Linked DNA regions of Homo sapiens: region 1 is linked to region 2. Evidence: promoter capture Hi-C in human tissues and cell types (Jung and others, 2019). All regions are on one chromosome and are shown on one strand. Each heading gives the region's core, a stretch centred on a gene start or on the middle of the fragment in contact. The rest is flanking DNA. Distances are from core to core; before and after follow the strand shown.

What was found. Contacts are between HindIII fragments. The study calls those that stand out against the background at their distance.
Region 1: a fragment that was not itself captured here is called in contact with the fragment with the promoter of KCNK3 in region 2 in 2 of the 25 tissues and cell types used here (mesenchymal stem cells and spleen).

Annotation. Positions count from the first base shown.
Region 1 is chr2:26,560,871-26,568,579 of GRCh38, forward strand. It overlaps CIMIP2C (ciliary microtubule inner protein 2C), which reads left to right and starts at 1,717. Exons shown (of 4, transcript NM_001105519.3): 1 at 1,717-1,816. The coding sequence starts at 1,743. RefSeq lists enhancers at 1,491-1,991, 5,238-5,743 and a silencer at 1,589-1,728. The HindIII fragment of the contact is 4,843 bases long and covers 3,797-7,709 here.
Region 2 is chr2:26,687,390-26,695,023 of GRCh38, forward strand. It overlaps KCNK3 (potassium two pore domain channel subfamily K member 3), which reads left to right and starts at 5,333. Exons shown (of 2, transcript NM_002246.3): 1 at 5,333-5,769. The coding sequence starts at 5,487. The HindIII fragment of the contact is 34,558 bases long and covers 1,218-7,634 here.

The DNA.
Region 1 (7,709 bases), core at 4,968-7,467, 130 kb before region 2:
GTTCCCAGCCAGAACCCACTTTTTAATTTCCATTCTTCTGTTACCCATTTTGGTAACTGAGTATATAATTTATGTAATGAACATTTACTGAATTCTTTCCAGAGCCAGGTGCTGAGATTCAGGGATGAATATGATATGGATGGCACAGGATCCCAATCAGACGAGACAGATGGACTAGAACACAGGCAGGTGGAAGGCAGGGTGGTGGGTTTACCAGCAGGACTGGCTGGGCAGCCCTGAATGGGGGAGGAAGTAGGCGGTCAACCTCACCAGGGCTGGGGGTCTTTGACTCATGTTTTCCTTATTGTAGAACATGTTCCCCAATGAGAATTTAGAAAAATACAGACATGACTGCATTCTGAAGGATGGATGGATTTTCCTTCCACCCAGTTTGTTTGCAGCCGTTCCTTTGCCTACAGCTCTCTTTCCAACCAGGCCTCAGTGTTTCTGCTTCCTGAGCCTCTGGGAAGCCTGTGGCTCCCCTTCATTTCATTGGCATTTGCCAGGGGAAGTCTTTGGAGAATGCTGGTGGCAGCCACATTCTGTGAACCCAGTAGCGTCTGCGGTCTTCATCCACTGCCATTTACAGAACCGAAGTGCGAGGGGAGCACTGCTCTCCATCCGGCATCTGAAGGGAAGAAGCAAGACCTGGAGACAAAGTGGGAACTGCCAGGCTTCTTCATGACACCAGGACTGCTGCAGAGGGAGCTGGGGTGGCAGGGCCTCCACCCGAGTCACCAAGAGCCTGGCACCGTGGAAGCTGTCCCCATACCCTCACCCCTTATGGAAAAGCCGAAGGCCCTGTGCCTGCCCTAGGCACCAAGGCTGGTGTAAGGGTCCCTGGAGAAACTCAAATGTGGAGGCTGAAGCAGTCACAGGGAGGATTACACAGGGGGTGGGCCTTCAGCAGGCCTGCTCTCTGGGGCAAGCGCTACCCCTGCGGATGCCATCCCCAAAATGAACGGCAGCATTGGGGACAAATGTAAATCACACACCCAGACGTTCTATGATTTTCTTTTTGCCTCTTGTGGAGTAGTTTACAGGTATGATGAGGTGAGAAGGAAGCCATCAGCTAGAGATTAAGAAGAAAAATGAAAAATGCTCCTCTTCGCAAGGCGCGCACACACACACGCACACATGCACGCACGCACGCACACACACAATTACACACAGCGTCCTAGGCAACCTCGCCCAGCGCGGCCCACTACAGAGCCCCTTCCTGGAACTCCCATGGAGCTGGGGTGCAGGGGAAGCCTTGGAGAGACATAGCTCCTGGGGACCCTAAGGCCACTCAGGTTTCTGGGCCTGAGCCACGGTGGGGCAGCTGCTTCGTGCGTGACCTCCAAAGTCAGGACCTGGCCTGTCCTTTGTGGTAGCGTCGCGTTCCAAGCCGGGTCACCGCAAGACGGATCCCGCCAGGCCTCTCCAGCGATGTTCTGCCTCCCTCCCGCATCTGAGCCTCTGCACATCCCGCAGGCAGCAAGGCAGAGAGCCCCGACGCGCCGGGGCAAGTGACAGGGGTCACCCAGCAGAGCTCGCGGAAATGGGAGGCGCCTTCTGGGCGCGCCCTATGGGGCTGCTCCGGGAGGTGGCCGCCAGGGGGGCGCAGTGTCTCGGAACGCGAGGACCGCGGGGCCAGCTGGCGTTGCCAGGCTCGCCGCCGTGGCCGTTGCCAGGTGACCCGCCGCTGTTTACCGTGGGGCGGAGCGGAGCGCCAGGCTCGCTGTACTCGCGCACCCACCATGGCCTCCCGCAGCGCGGGCACCCTACTGACCGAGTTCAATGCCGCCTACGTGCCCCCTGGACTCATGCCCGGGTAAGGCCGAGGGAGCGCCTCCTCCCCTCCCCCTTCCACTAGCGCCCTCCTCGGTGATCGAAATTCAGCCCCCTGCCCCCGGACTTTGGGGTTGAAGGAACCCCGAGGAGCCAATTTTCCACCCGACGGGGCGAGGGGCCTTCCTAGAGGTTTGTGGTTTCAGAGTAGGAAGTGGGCAGGCACGGGCGGGGGCCTCCCCAGATTCCCCTTCACAGGAAGGCGCTCCCTGGCAAGTGGGGCACAGCCAGCAGGGCATAAGGGACCTCGCATGGATGTAGCCGGGGAAGGGGGAGGAGATGGAGCCACGTGGGGTTTAGTGCTTGGAGACGCCCCAGGCGGGCAGCCTCCAGCGCTTAGAGAAAATGCGAGAAAATCAGGCCCTTCCGTCCGGCGCACAGGGCCAGCACCCAGCATTCGGGCAAGGTCAGTACTTGTTGGTTGAAGGAGGGAAGGATACCGGGTGGGTGCCCGCTCGAAGAACCTGGCAAGGCCGGAAGAGCCGTAGTTAATGGGTCATGTGTGCAGTACCCGCCCGACTTTGCGGTCGGTCCTTTCACAGACCTCCCTTTATCCTCCCAGAAGTTTTTCTTGGAAAGCTTCCTGGCCACTTGCCCTGAGCGCTGGCTTGCTGTTTAGCACTTTCAAATACTAGGTTACACCTACCTTTCTTTACTCTGGATATTTTCAGACTCCAACCATCTAACATGCAAGTCTGGCTGTTGCCTCCTGTTCTTTGGCTCTTTCTCCTACAGTGTCTGATGTTTCTACTCTGGACCGCCTCTCCCAGGGTGTAAGGCTGTCTTTATCCCTCCTACCAGTCAGCATAGGTACTGAGAACAGGCACTGGATTCTGAGAGGCAACCTGTACAGTATCAGCAAATCTGTATAGAATGAATGAATGATCCTAAGAACCCTTGTCTGAAAAAAAGAGTGAACGAATGAATGAAATGAATGTCTTGAGGATTCTGCAGGCAGAGTCTCCAAATGGGTGAAAAAGCCCGCATGCTCTCCCCTGCAATCGGAACAGATGGCAACATGAAGAAAAGTGTATTTGGTATGAAGTTGAGATTGTTTTGAAGCAGAATAAGCTAGACACAGAGGTGCTGTGACATTCAAATCATTTCTGGAGGCTGCATGAGAAAGTAGCAACCAGGGGCTGGTGCTGTAGTTTTAACCTAGCCCATTTGTGGATGCGACCTCTCTCTGGGCCTTGGAGGGAGCTCAAAAGCTACCAGGGTTCCCATCAGACAAAGCTGATTTACCAGGTCATGGTAGTTTCCCGAAGCCAAGCCAGGTGACTTAGGATTTGCCCGTTTTCCTTTATTTAAGACATTCATGTGGGTCAGTGCTTGGGACATGCCAGGTGTTATGTTAGGAGGCTGGGAAGACAAAGACAAACAAGTGAGGGGCTGCCCTAGTGTGGTGTAAACACATAAGGTTTAGTTCAAATCCATTTTTGCAGCCTTGGATTGTGGTGCTGACACCACATTCTGGGTGTTCATCATGAGATTTGATTTTATACATTGACTTTTTTTCTTAAGCCTCCCACAGTCTCCAGTTGGAAAATTTTCTATTGTCTGACTCCTGGACATTTCCCATCTGAGGGGCAAGGCCTGGTGCTCCTGCAAACCCTGCCCCACAGTTCCCCAACTCTGTTTGGCAGGGGTGGGAGCTGCAGGTTTCAGAAGCAGTCCCCAGGGTGCTTTCCTATTCCTGCCACTTCTCAGCAGTTCCCTTGAGCGCCCTGTCCTGTGATTGATTTAGAAATGGCAATAAGAGGATCATGAATGAGGCTTCAAGCCTGGACTGGGCTAGTTTGAGCAGCTGAGCCCGTATCTGCTGCTTTCTCATCTAGATCTTTCTGGAAGGGTTGTGTTCCCCTTAAAGATTCCCATCAGCAAGGGATGAATTGAGTCATTTTGTGTTTCCAAATGCTACCTCGTTGGCAATTCTGTTAACTTAATGAAAGAACCCAAGATTCCCGACCACACTTGGATAATTCTTATTTTTGTGTGTCTGTTCAAACACTAATCACAGGATTTTAAAGCACAGCCAGTCTCTTCTGACACTCACATCACCCTGCTCTTACCTGCTTTATTCATAGAGGCGAGAATATTCATGCTGGTGTGGACCTCAGAGATCATGTAGCCCTGTCCCCTCCTGTTCCAGATGTGGTCACTGAGGTGTGGGGGGACTTGCCTGAGCCCCACGCTGGTGATTGAAGTGCTGGGCTGGAGCCAGGTCCCTAATGCCTGGCAATAACACCATGATCTCCTAAGTCTGAGCTCCAACTATGTACCAGGCACTGTGCTGGGCCCTTCACAACATTTTCTTCTTCTTCTTCTTCTCCTTCTCCTTCTCCTTCTCCTTCTTCTTCCCCTTCCCCTTCCCCTTCCCCTTCCCCTACCCCTTCTTCTTTTTTTAATGGAGTCTTGCTCTGTTGCCCAGGCTGGAGTGCAATGGCGCAATCTCGGCTCACAGCAACCTCTGCCTCCTGGGTTCAAGCAATTCTCCCTACCTCAGCCTCCTGAGTAGCTGGGATTACAGGCACGCGCCACCACAGCCGGCTAATTTTTGTATTTTTAGTACAGGCGGGGTTTTGCCATGTTGGCCAGGCTGGTCTCGAACTCCTGACCTCAGATGATCAACCCGCCTTGGCCTCCCAAAGTGCTGGGATTACAGGCATGAGCCACCACGCCTGGCCTTTTTTCTTTTTTAAAATCATCACAATAACCCAGATGAGGAATGAGCAGCTTGCCCAAAGTCATTCAGCAAGTTGCCGAGCCTCGGCTTTGTGACTTCAACGCCCCAACTCACCCCAATATCTCCCCAACCGTCATGTGGTGTTTCACACTGCCTCCCTCATTTAGCAGGGAGGGAATGGGGTCGACAGTAAGAGATGGACTCTGGAGCAAGCCTGCCTGGTACGAATCCTGGCTCCATGACTTCCTTACCCTGGGCAGGTTACTTATCCCCCCTGCCTCACCTACCTTATCTGTTCAATGGGGATGATCACGGTGTGCAGGTTAAAGAGGTTTCAGTTAGTTAACATGCGTAAAGCCTGGCACTTGATCATTGTTAGCTGTTATCATTAGTTAGATCTCTACTGTGTTCAAGATCTGGTTCTAGGAACCCCGGGGAACATGAAATAATAACAAAGCTGGTCTTCAGCCTCGCCGGCCAGGGTGCTCCATTTGGTTCCATGCTGTTCCTGGGGACACAGCTCCTAGGCACCTTGCCACAGGCAGTGCCTGCCTACGCCTGGCCTGGGTGCTATTCCTGCAGTGGGCAGGAGCTCTTGGGTCAGAGCCCCTGAGATTTGAAGGGGTTTGAAGGGATGAGATTGGCCTCAGTGAGGATCCAAGCTTCCTGCTTGCAAGTCGGATCTGGGTGGCATCCACTCCTCATTCTCTGTTTCTGGCCATGCCTCACCGGCTCTCAGTGCAGACACTTGGCCTGCGCCATGCATTCATTCATGCCCAGACTGCCACTGCGCCCCATGCCCACAGCTCCTGCCCAGCGGCTCTCACCAAGAGTGAGGGCAGGAGGATTTGCCTCCCAGCCCCTCTCTCTGTCTGCCTGGGGTGGCAGTTGTGCCCACATCTGTCACTGAGCTGGACCTCGGAGACTTCAGGGGCCTCTGGTCCTAAAATCAGTGCGTTCCACTCCATTGTCAGGAGAGTGGTCCCACAAAGGTGGCTGTGTCCCCATCCCCAGAATCCCTGTACAGCAAACACACACACGGTGGTGTACTGACAAATGTTTAACAACCAGTTCTCTGGAGCAAAAATGCTTTGATTTGTAACATTCATCCGTATCTGTGGTATAAATACTCTCACCAAAGCTGATTTCAAACTATCAACATAGTGTCCTTAATTGCAGAGTTGGGGAGGGATGGATGCACAGCTGTGCACCATTATATAACATTTCCACCCCACAGATAGAGTGGACATGACAACCTCAAACACAGACGATAGTAACGTGGCAAAATAATTAGGAAGTGAGGAGTTTTGACTGTCTCCTTTGGTTTTAGTGTGTTTTTCTTTCCTTTGAGACAGAGTCTTACTCTGTCACCCAGGCTTGAGTGCAGTGGCACGATCACAGCTCACTATAGCCTTAACCTCCTGGGCTCAAGTGATCCTCCCACCTCAGCCCCCTGAGTAGCTGGGACCACAGGTGTGCACCACCATACCTGGCTAATTTTTATATTTTTTGTAGAGACAGGGCTGCCCAGGCTGGTCTTGAACTCTTGGGCTCAAGCCATTTGCCTGCCTCAGCCTCCCAAAGTGCTGGGATTATAGAAGCCAACATGCCTGGCCTAATATAACATATTTAATTGTAATGGAATATAATTTGATATTGAATACTGGCTTGTTTAATAATAGACTTAACAATTTCCTGAAAATTTAGAAGTTGATTCCTTTGAAGCCAGTAGGCACTGCCTGTAGCCCACTACTGCCTGCCCCTGTGATATGGTTTGGCTGTGTCCCCACCCAAATCTCATCTTGAATTGTAGTTTCCATAATCCCCACATGTCACAAGAGGGACCAGGTGGAGATAATTGAATCATGGGGGCAGTTCCCCCATCCTGTTCTCATGAGAGTTAGTTCTCACAAGATCAGATGGTTTTATAAGGGGCTCCCCATTTGTTGGGCACCCATTTTTCTCTCCTGCCGCCATGAGAACAAGGACATGTTTGCTTCACTTTCTGCCATCACTGTAAGTTTCCTGAGACTTCCCCAACCCTGCAGAACTATTAGTCAATTAAACCTCTTTCCTTTATAAATTACCCAGTTTGGGGCAGTTCTTCTTAGCAGCGTGGGAACAGAGTAATACACTCTGCCAGCTTCCTGGGGCCTGGGGCTTTACCCTTCAGGGAGAGAGGTCAGGCCAGGCTTGGGAAGGGAGGGTTCCAAAGCATTTGCATTTCCAAAGCCCCTTCCACTTCAACCCAGGCCCTGGCACCCGAGGTGCAGCCCTCCAAACAGGCCAGTGCATCTTGGGGTATGAAACAAAGGCCATCTGCCCAGGAGGAGGTAGGGGACCCTTTGTGCCCATTCGTTAGTATTAGAATCTCCTGGGGAGCTTTAACTATGACCTGTGTTCGGGCCCCATCTAGAGATTCTGATGTCATTGGTTGGGCTGGGCCAGGGCTGCAGGAGTTTCTAATCCTCCCAGGCAATTCTAAGATGTAACCAGGGACAGGAATGCTTGTCTGAGAATTTCTATGGCCCCTTGCATTGCAGACCACTGTTGAGAAACTGGCAGGTGTGGTCCTGTTTTCAAGCATTTGAAAGAAGGGACCTCCTCGTGTGAAGCCTTCTACCTGTGCCATTCTCCTTGGCACACCCCCGCCCCCAGGCTGAGAGGTCTGACTGAAGGCACAGCAGGCACTACTTTCGTTGTTCGGTTCTCATCTCCAGCTGAGGGAAAAGATCATTGTCCCAGATTCAAGCCCAAAATACAGAAGCAGAAAGTAAATTCTACAGTCCCTCAATTCTTCTCCCTCTTGGCCCTGTCCCCACAGGGAGCTTCCTTCTCTATCCCCCCAGGAGGCAGCCTGGTCTCAGAGGGCCTCACACACTTAGGGAGCCTCTGGCCACTCACCTGCCTTTCTCTGCTGCAGTATCTTCTCTTCTGGAGGATTCATAAGCCACGTCATTCCCCACCCCTTTCCCAGGACCTCTGCCCCAAGGCCAGCCCCTATCTCTTCCCTGGAATTCACCTCTGAGCTGTTCAAGTACATTTCATAGGTAACTGGTGCCTCTCTACCTTGAGGAACTGTGGAGCCCCCTAAGAACAGGTGATCAGGGGCTCCTGGAGACTTGGGCTTTGCAACAGGGATCCTCCTTCTCTCCAGAAGAAAGGGCAACCCTTTAAAATGTGCCACCAT
Region 2 (7,634 bases), core at 4,083-6,582:
AGTCAGAAAAGTGAATCATCCCAGTGCCGGTGAGGACAGAGCGGGAATCTTGTGCACTGCTGGGGAGAATGAAAACCAAGACTGCCATGCCAAGGACAGCCCAGCAGTATTTAGTGACATGCCTGCACCTGCCCAGTGTCAACCTGTCTCTGCCACATGTTTGCTGTGGCATTGGGGGCCAGTTCAGCAGGCATAAGCACTGTGGCCACTGAACAATTCCCTGCAGATCCTTAAGCACGCATACACAAGGATGCTCATCACAGGCTCAGGGAAATGGAGGCCACTTAGGAGGCCACTCTAGGGGCAGGGGTTCATCACACACGGGGGATGCAGACTGTGAAATAAGGGCTACGGCTTCATGCTGTCCATGGCTGCTGTGAGCAGGAGCAAGCCTGACCCCACAGCAACTCCACAAAGCCCTGCTGTTCCTCACTCTCACTAGTAGGAGAGCCAAGCCCAGTCCCAGCCTAGGGCTGGCCTCACAGATCTTTGAATTTGACCCCTCATTCCCAGATGAGAACCCTTTCTCCCCAACCCACAGCACGACTGGGCGGGGCTAAGAACAGGGCCAGGTGTCCAGACTCCCAGCCCCGTGTGCTCTCCCCCACAGCCCGCAGAGCCTCTCTTTGTTAACAGTTGCCTTTTGTGTTTGATTTGGGCTTGAGATGTTAAACAAATAGTGTCTCTTGACAAATGCAAGCCGGCTGCACTGGGACCAGTTATGCTCCATAAAGCCAGGCTAATCCCCTGACTTCTCTCCCTACAGAGATACACCAAGAAACACCCCAATCATACCCAAAGCACCCTAAATCTGATTGACCTGCAGACAGAGGCCATGATCCCTGGTGCAGCGCTCGGTGTCAGCAATGTCCTTCTGGGCTTTCTGCAGCAGCTTCTGGGCTTCTCTCCCCCTTCTCAGGCCTGACCCTGGCTTGATGTCAAGATGGCTCTGGACCCTGCCTCCTACATGAACCATGGGCCCCAGGCCCTACTGACCCACCTGAGCCCACCAGGCCAACTGGACCAAATAGAGGGGTGTTTACAAACACCTTCTCTGTGTCAGCTGCTGTGCCAGGAGCTGTGGCTTACAGACATGAGTAAGGCCCTACCCCTGCCCTACAGGAGATTATGGTCTGCTCTAAACAAAACGAACTTGAATTTCACGTGAGGATCTGGTCTAGAAACTGATGGAGTCAGGATCTGAACTTCAGCTTGTCTGACTCAGGGTCCTACCTCATTGATCCTGCCCCTATCCTCCAGCCAAACTGCCAATACAGGGGGCTGGAAAGCAATGGACAGGGAGGTATTTGGGCCTCTCATCCTTCTGGCCACATTCTTGGCCATTGTACACTGACCACTCTGGTCAAATGGCCAGGGCTCTCGTTAACATCCCAGAATGTCAGAGCAGGAAGGGACCTTTGGATACAGCCAACGCTTTTGTCTTATAGAAAAAGAAACTGAGACACATAGAGGCCACGTGAGTTTCCCGAGTCCACCCAACTAGTTGGTGGTAGTTGATGGCAGCACTGGGACCAAACTCCAGCCTCTGGACTCCTAGTTCAATGCTGTCTCCCACATGCTTCCTTGGGCCCTGGGACACACATCTGTCTTTATCCTCCTCTCCTAAGCTAGACAGAGCTTGTCCCAGCTTTAGAACTATCTCTCTTCAGAGAACCACAGAAGCAGATTGCCAGGGTTTTTCTGCCTGCAGACTCAGCCATCTGTGCCCCTCTCCCTCTGACACTGATGGTCTCTAACTCAGGTATAGAGATCCTTAAAGCCTTCATTTGAGTGAGTCACCCAAGGAAACATGTGGAGCAGCTCTAAGGTGCAAAGTACTGCGGGGAGAGTAGCATGAGTGAGAAGGGTTTCCTCCACCCTGGAGAAGATAATGAGCCAGTGGGGAAGATGGATATGAAAGAACAGCTAATCTTTTAGGCAGGAGGAATACCTGCTGAGTTGATGCTTAGATAGGGTGCTGCAGAAGCACAAAAAGAGCCAGTGGTTCTGATCAGAGGAAACTGGGAAATGCTTCATGGAGGGAGTGGTCTTTAAGCTGGGTCTTGGAGCCTGAATAGGAGTTCAACAGACAGAAGATGGGAAAGGCAAGGAGGCACCAGCATCCCAGGTTATGGGAGCCACATGAGCCATGTGAAGCATGGAAGTACTTGGATGTGTTTAGAACTTAGAGAAGAATGGACTGGAAGATAAAGCTGGTTAATAATTGTGTATGATGTTAGTATATAATAAAATATAGTAACTAATGACACATTCTGTTCAATTTATCCTACCTAACTCTGTGTCCCTTTCCTCACAAACTAGAATCTTAAAAGTAGTGCTATTTCCTCTTTTTGTCTGATTATTGGGAGAACTAGAGAAACAGAGTCCGGGAAGGTCATGGGATGCTATAAATGAAGGGAGTGTGGACATTTCCTGGTCCAGACCCCTCCACTGATGGATGAGCAGCAAGCCTCAAGGAGAAGGAGCGACTGGCCCCCAATGCCAGAGCAAACAGGTGGCAGAGACAGGTTGACACTGGGCAGGCACAGGCAGGTCTGAGGAGCCCAGGATGGGAAGAAATGGGATAAGCTGATATGTCTTTGGCACAATCTGACCCAGGTTGCCTACAAGTCCCAGGGGCTACTCAGAAACCTAGACTGGTACCAACATGGCTCCTATTCCAGAACCTTCTCCCCAAGAGAAGGAGAGAGGAGGGGCAGGAAGAAGGAGACCTAGGCTGCCCTCTGGGCTTCAGGGCCTCCCCACTGATAGGTGCCCTGGTCCCACACATAATAGGTGCAACAAGAAAGTGCCAACCTTGGGACATGAGTCCTGGTTCCCCCTCACTCACTGTGTGACCTTGGACAACACTCTTCCTACTGTCTGGGCCTCAGTTTCCTCATATGTAACATGAGAAGGTTGGGCTAAATGATCTCTAAAGGTCCTTTCAGTATTGAAGTGCTCAGAGAAAAAGCTTCATCATGATTAATAATACATGCCCTGCCCCTAAAGACAGCTTTTTCCCTTTTCCAAAGCTCTTTCACTCATAATATCACCTTTCATCGGTACAGCTGTCTGGCCTGGCAGTCACAAGCAAGCAGAACCTGGACACAGCCTTTTCACCTTGAAAACCTGGTCTAGCAACCCTCTTGCTCATCTAGACAGGCTTTGGGGGAATTCGCTTCTGGGGTGACTGTCACCAGGAGCCAATACATCAGAAATGCACAGAACCTAACTTGTACCTTCACCTCTGAGAAGCTGGGAAAGGCAGTACTTTCCTTCCAGGGAGCCAGAAGATGCAAAGGGGAAAAGCCTGCAATAGGCTGAGTTGCTGGTCAGAGGGCAAGACCAGAAATTCTGTGCCTGCAAAGAAACAAAGATCTTCCCTTGAAGAGGGAGGGGGAACATGGTGCTATAAATGTAGGACCCTCCCATTGGGCTCTGAAGTCATTAGAGAGCCTCATATCATCTGATTTGCACACATGTGTTCTTCTTTGATCTCTCAAAACAAATGGTTCAAGACGCGGGTAGAGCTAATATTATTATCTATTCCACTTTACAAATTGAAAAAAAAAAAAGAGAGACTCAAGGAGTCATGGCAAAGAGCATGGGCTTAAGAGGCAGACAGACTGAAGCCTCTTCCCAGCTGAGTGAAATTTACTGATTCTCTACATTGCCTTTAGCCTCAGTTTCCCCATCTATAAAATAGGCATGACCACACCTACCTTTCAGGATTGTGGTGAGGACCAGAGATGATGAATCCCTGACACACAACAGATGCTTAATAAATACTTGTTGAAGGAATGAAGGGGTTGGTGGCACTTCTGGGGTGTCATTGGAGGAGTGTAGTGTCCGGCAGTGACAGGTCAGCCCAGCCTGTGGGTAGACAGTGCTCCAGCTTCTGGCTGACTGCCTCCTGAGTCTGCTCTCAGTCAGGGGCCTTGGTGTCTCTTCCCTGTCTCTCTGCCTGGCCCATGCCAGGGTCCTGTGAAGGACTTTTTAACCCTTCTTGGCACTGAGATTTGCATTCCAATCATTCTGCTCACTCAGCCCATCCAAGTCTGGAGTTGTTTAGAGCTGGGCAAGGCCTGTGGGATCATCTGCTACGACACCTCGTTGAAAAGATAAGGAAACAAGGCTCTGAGAGGGTCAGTAATGCCTGAGTTTCCACTACCCTTCCCACCTCACCACCATAGCCACCATGTTTGACAAATGAAGAAACTGAGGCATAGGGACCCCCTCTCCTGCCCCAGTTCCCGCAGTCTGCCAGTGAGCCTCCTGCTCTGGGCCCCACCTGCCCAATTCCAGCTAGATCCCGGTTCTGCTGGGATGCCCTAAGGTGGTGGCAGGTGCTATCTCTGGCAACTCAGCCTAAGCCCAGCCTGGTGCACGGGTGCAAGACAGGAACCATGGGAGTCGGGACAGCCTAGAAGCCCCTGGGAGCGAAGCAGGAGGCCTAGACTCCCAGCCTGTGCCTTCTCAGCCAGTTCCAAGAACTGTGCTGACCTGGGAAGGCACACATTGCCTGAGAACAGGGCTTTCCCTTGGGTGTCAGCTCATGTGTGCCCAGGTCCACAGCTGGGCCCTGCCTGCTTCCAAGACAGCCAGAGTCTGGCCCAAGGGAGGAAGGAGTGTGGCCTGGGAGGAAGGAACGCTTGGCTGAGTCCCAGTGCTGTCACGAAATCACTGCGTGCCCATGCGTGTCACTTGACCTCTCTGGGCCTCCATTTCCTCATCCATAGGATAAGGGCAGGACAGCGAGGCCCCAAGTGCCTCCTGGCTGCAATATGCTGTGATGAGGGTGGAGGGTGGGGTGGGGAGGGGCTCGCTCTGCCTTCCTTGCCTTCCTGTCTGTTTCTCTGTCATTAGTTTATCTCCAGCAATCCAGGCCTCTCTGTCTCAGTCTGTTGCTCTCTCTGTTTCCATCTTTTGCTCTGTATTTTTCTGCCCGCCTCTCTTCTTTTTCTGTCTGAGTGCACCTCTGATTTTATCTCCTCCTCTGTCACACAGCCCCCTTCCCTCAGTCCTACACTGCCTTTCTCCCATTCTCCGTAGTTATCAGCGTTTCGCTGTCTAGTTTTCTCTGTCTCTCGGGCTCGCTCTCTCTCTCTTTCTCTCTCTCTGTCCTGCCCGGGCTCTCTCGCGGCCGCCCCTCCCGTCCCCTCCGCCAGCCCCCCTCCTCCCTCCTCGGCGCGTCTCCCCAGTCCTTATTTGGCTGGGCGGGAGGGCTGGCGGGAGGAGGCGGCCTGCGGGCGGGGGGCGGGGGGCGGGCGCGGGGCCGGGCGGAGGAGGGCGGTGGGTGGTGCTGAAGGGACAGCTCCGCGGCGGCGGCGGCGGCGGCGGCCCCGGGCGCTGAGCGGGTGCCCGGCGCGGAGAGCGGCGAGCGCAGCCATGCCCCAGGCCGCCTCCGGGGCAGCAGCAGCGGCGGCCGGGGCCGAGGCGCGGGCCGGGGGCGCCGGGGGGCCGGCGGCGGCCCGGGCGGGACGATGAAGCGGCAGAACGTGCGCACGCTGGCGCTCATCGTGTGCACCTTCACCTACCTGCTGGTGGGCGCCGCGGTCTTCGACGCGCTGGAGTCGGAGCCCGAGCTGATCGAGCGGCAGCGGCTGGAGCTGCGGCAGCAGGAGCTGCGGGCGCGCTACAACCTCAGCCAGGGCGGCTACGAGGAGCTGGAGCGCGTCGTGCTGCGCCTCAAGCCGCACAAGGCCGGCGTGCAGTGGCGCTTCGCCGGCTCCTTCTACTTCGCCATCACCGTCATCACCACCATCGGTAACGGCTCGCCGGGCGGGGGGCGGGAACCCAGGGCTGGGCGCGGGGCTCCGGGAGTCGTCCGGGGCCGGCTGGGGCTGGGGGCGGGGGCTCCCCCGAGAGGGGCTGGGCGCCGAACCCTGCGCTCGCAGAAACCCGAGTTCAGCCTGGCGTGTGTGCTCCGCGGGGACGGAACTCGGGGAGGCGTCGATTCCTGGCTCCGGACCTGACTCTCCGGCCGGGCCAGCCCTAACTTGGCCCTGCCATGTTGCATAGGCCCCCAGGGACTCCGAAGTGTGTGAGAGGGGCAGGGACGACCGGCGGAGGCTCGGGCAGGAGGGGTGTGGCCGGGCCAGGCCCTGAACAGGGCGCTGAGAGTGAGCGGCGGGAGAGCGCCAGTGCTCCGTATCCCTGAGGATCGGCTTCCACAGCCTAGCAGGTCTACACCTGCTGGGCTCTGGGGAGGCATGAGGATGTCGGAATGCGGCACTTCGGGGCACTTGGGGCCACCCTATAACGGCGGCTGTGAGTGTACGTGTGTCTGCGTGTTTCAGCTCCAGGAGTTTGGTCGCCACCAGTCAGTGCCTGTGATTTTCTCAGAGCGGCAGAATTGGTGCGGGAAGCCAGATCTGGCCTTGTCAGCCTTCTTCTCTGCTGTCCCAGCAAAACAGTCACCTCACAGGAATAACCCCAGTTCTTTCCAAGCCAGGGCAGATCACCATGTAGGAGGCCACACGTACACCCAGACTGTCAGACAACACAGGCATAGGCACACATGCACACAGATACACACAGGCACTCACAGGGTACACACAGGGCGGGCACACACACACACACACACAGAGAGAGAGACAGAGAGAGAGAGAGAGAACAAACGTTGCCCAGGAAAGGAATCTCTAGCCAGGCCCTTGGTGGTGCTATTCAAAACTGTCCAGACGGGAATAACACCTTACCTGTCCCCAACACCCTATGATTTCAGCCCAGCTCCATCACTACCGTGATATATGACCTTGGGCAAGTCCCTTCCCCTGTCTGGGTCTCAGGCTCACCTCCAGACAAGGAGGGGTGGCCAAAATGATCTCAAGAGCTCCTCCCCAGCCCCGACGTGCTTGGATTCTGAGATGAAACCCACCTTCCCCCAAAGCCCATTGAGATGCCTCCAGAAGCAGTTTCCTCTGTCTTTACTGTTCCCTCTCCTCTCCCTAGTCCCCTTCCCTGCCTTGATCAGACTCCCAGGGGTTCGTTGCCACTTAGCGCAGCCCATGAAGATGGCATTGTTTTCCTGGGAGTCAACAGGAGCTGAGGGAGTAAAAGGCAGGACTAGACACTCTTCCTGCGGTCTATCCACTGCAGGACACTGTTCCAAGAATCTACGGCTCCCTGGGGACCATGGGGAGCTATGCTGTGTCGTTTCTGGATTCTTCTCTTGGAAGAGGGAGGAAAGGGCCCTGGGAGTGGATGTGGCCCAGCTGGGGCACCTCTGGGTCCTACTGGTCCTGTGAGTTTAGGATAGGATGATCAGACTTAGGTCTGCCCAAAGAGGAGCCCGCTTCCTGAAAAACACCAGCCCAGATTTGGTCTGCAGTCTCTTCCACTCTCACACCCCACTACTATTTGCCAGGGTTTCAGTAGCTGTTTAGCTGTCTGGAGAATCAAAAGAATCAGACTGAACATCTTTGGACCCTCTCTCTCCCTCTTTTCCACACGTCAAGCCTTCACGCGTGTCCCCTTTCCTTCTCAGGCCCATGGTCCCCAGCTTCATAGTAACCTCCCAACTGACCTCCCTGCCTACCCCACAACAAGGCATGCTCCCCTGGACAATGCTGCCAGAAAGAAAAACTCAGCTGTCACCAAACCAATTCCCTTCTTGGAATCCCTCAATGACT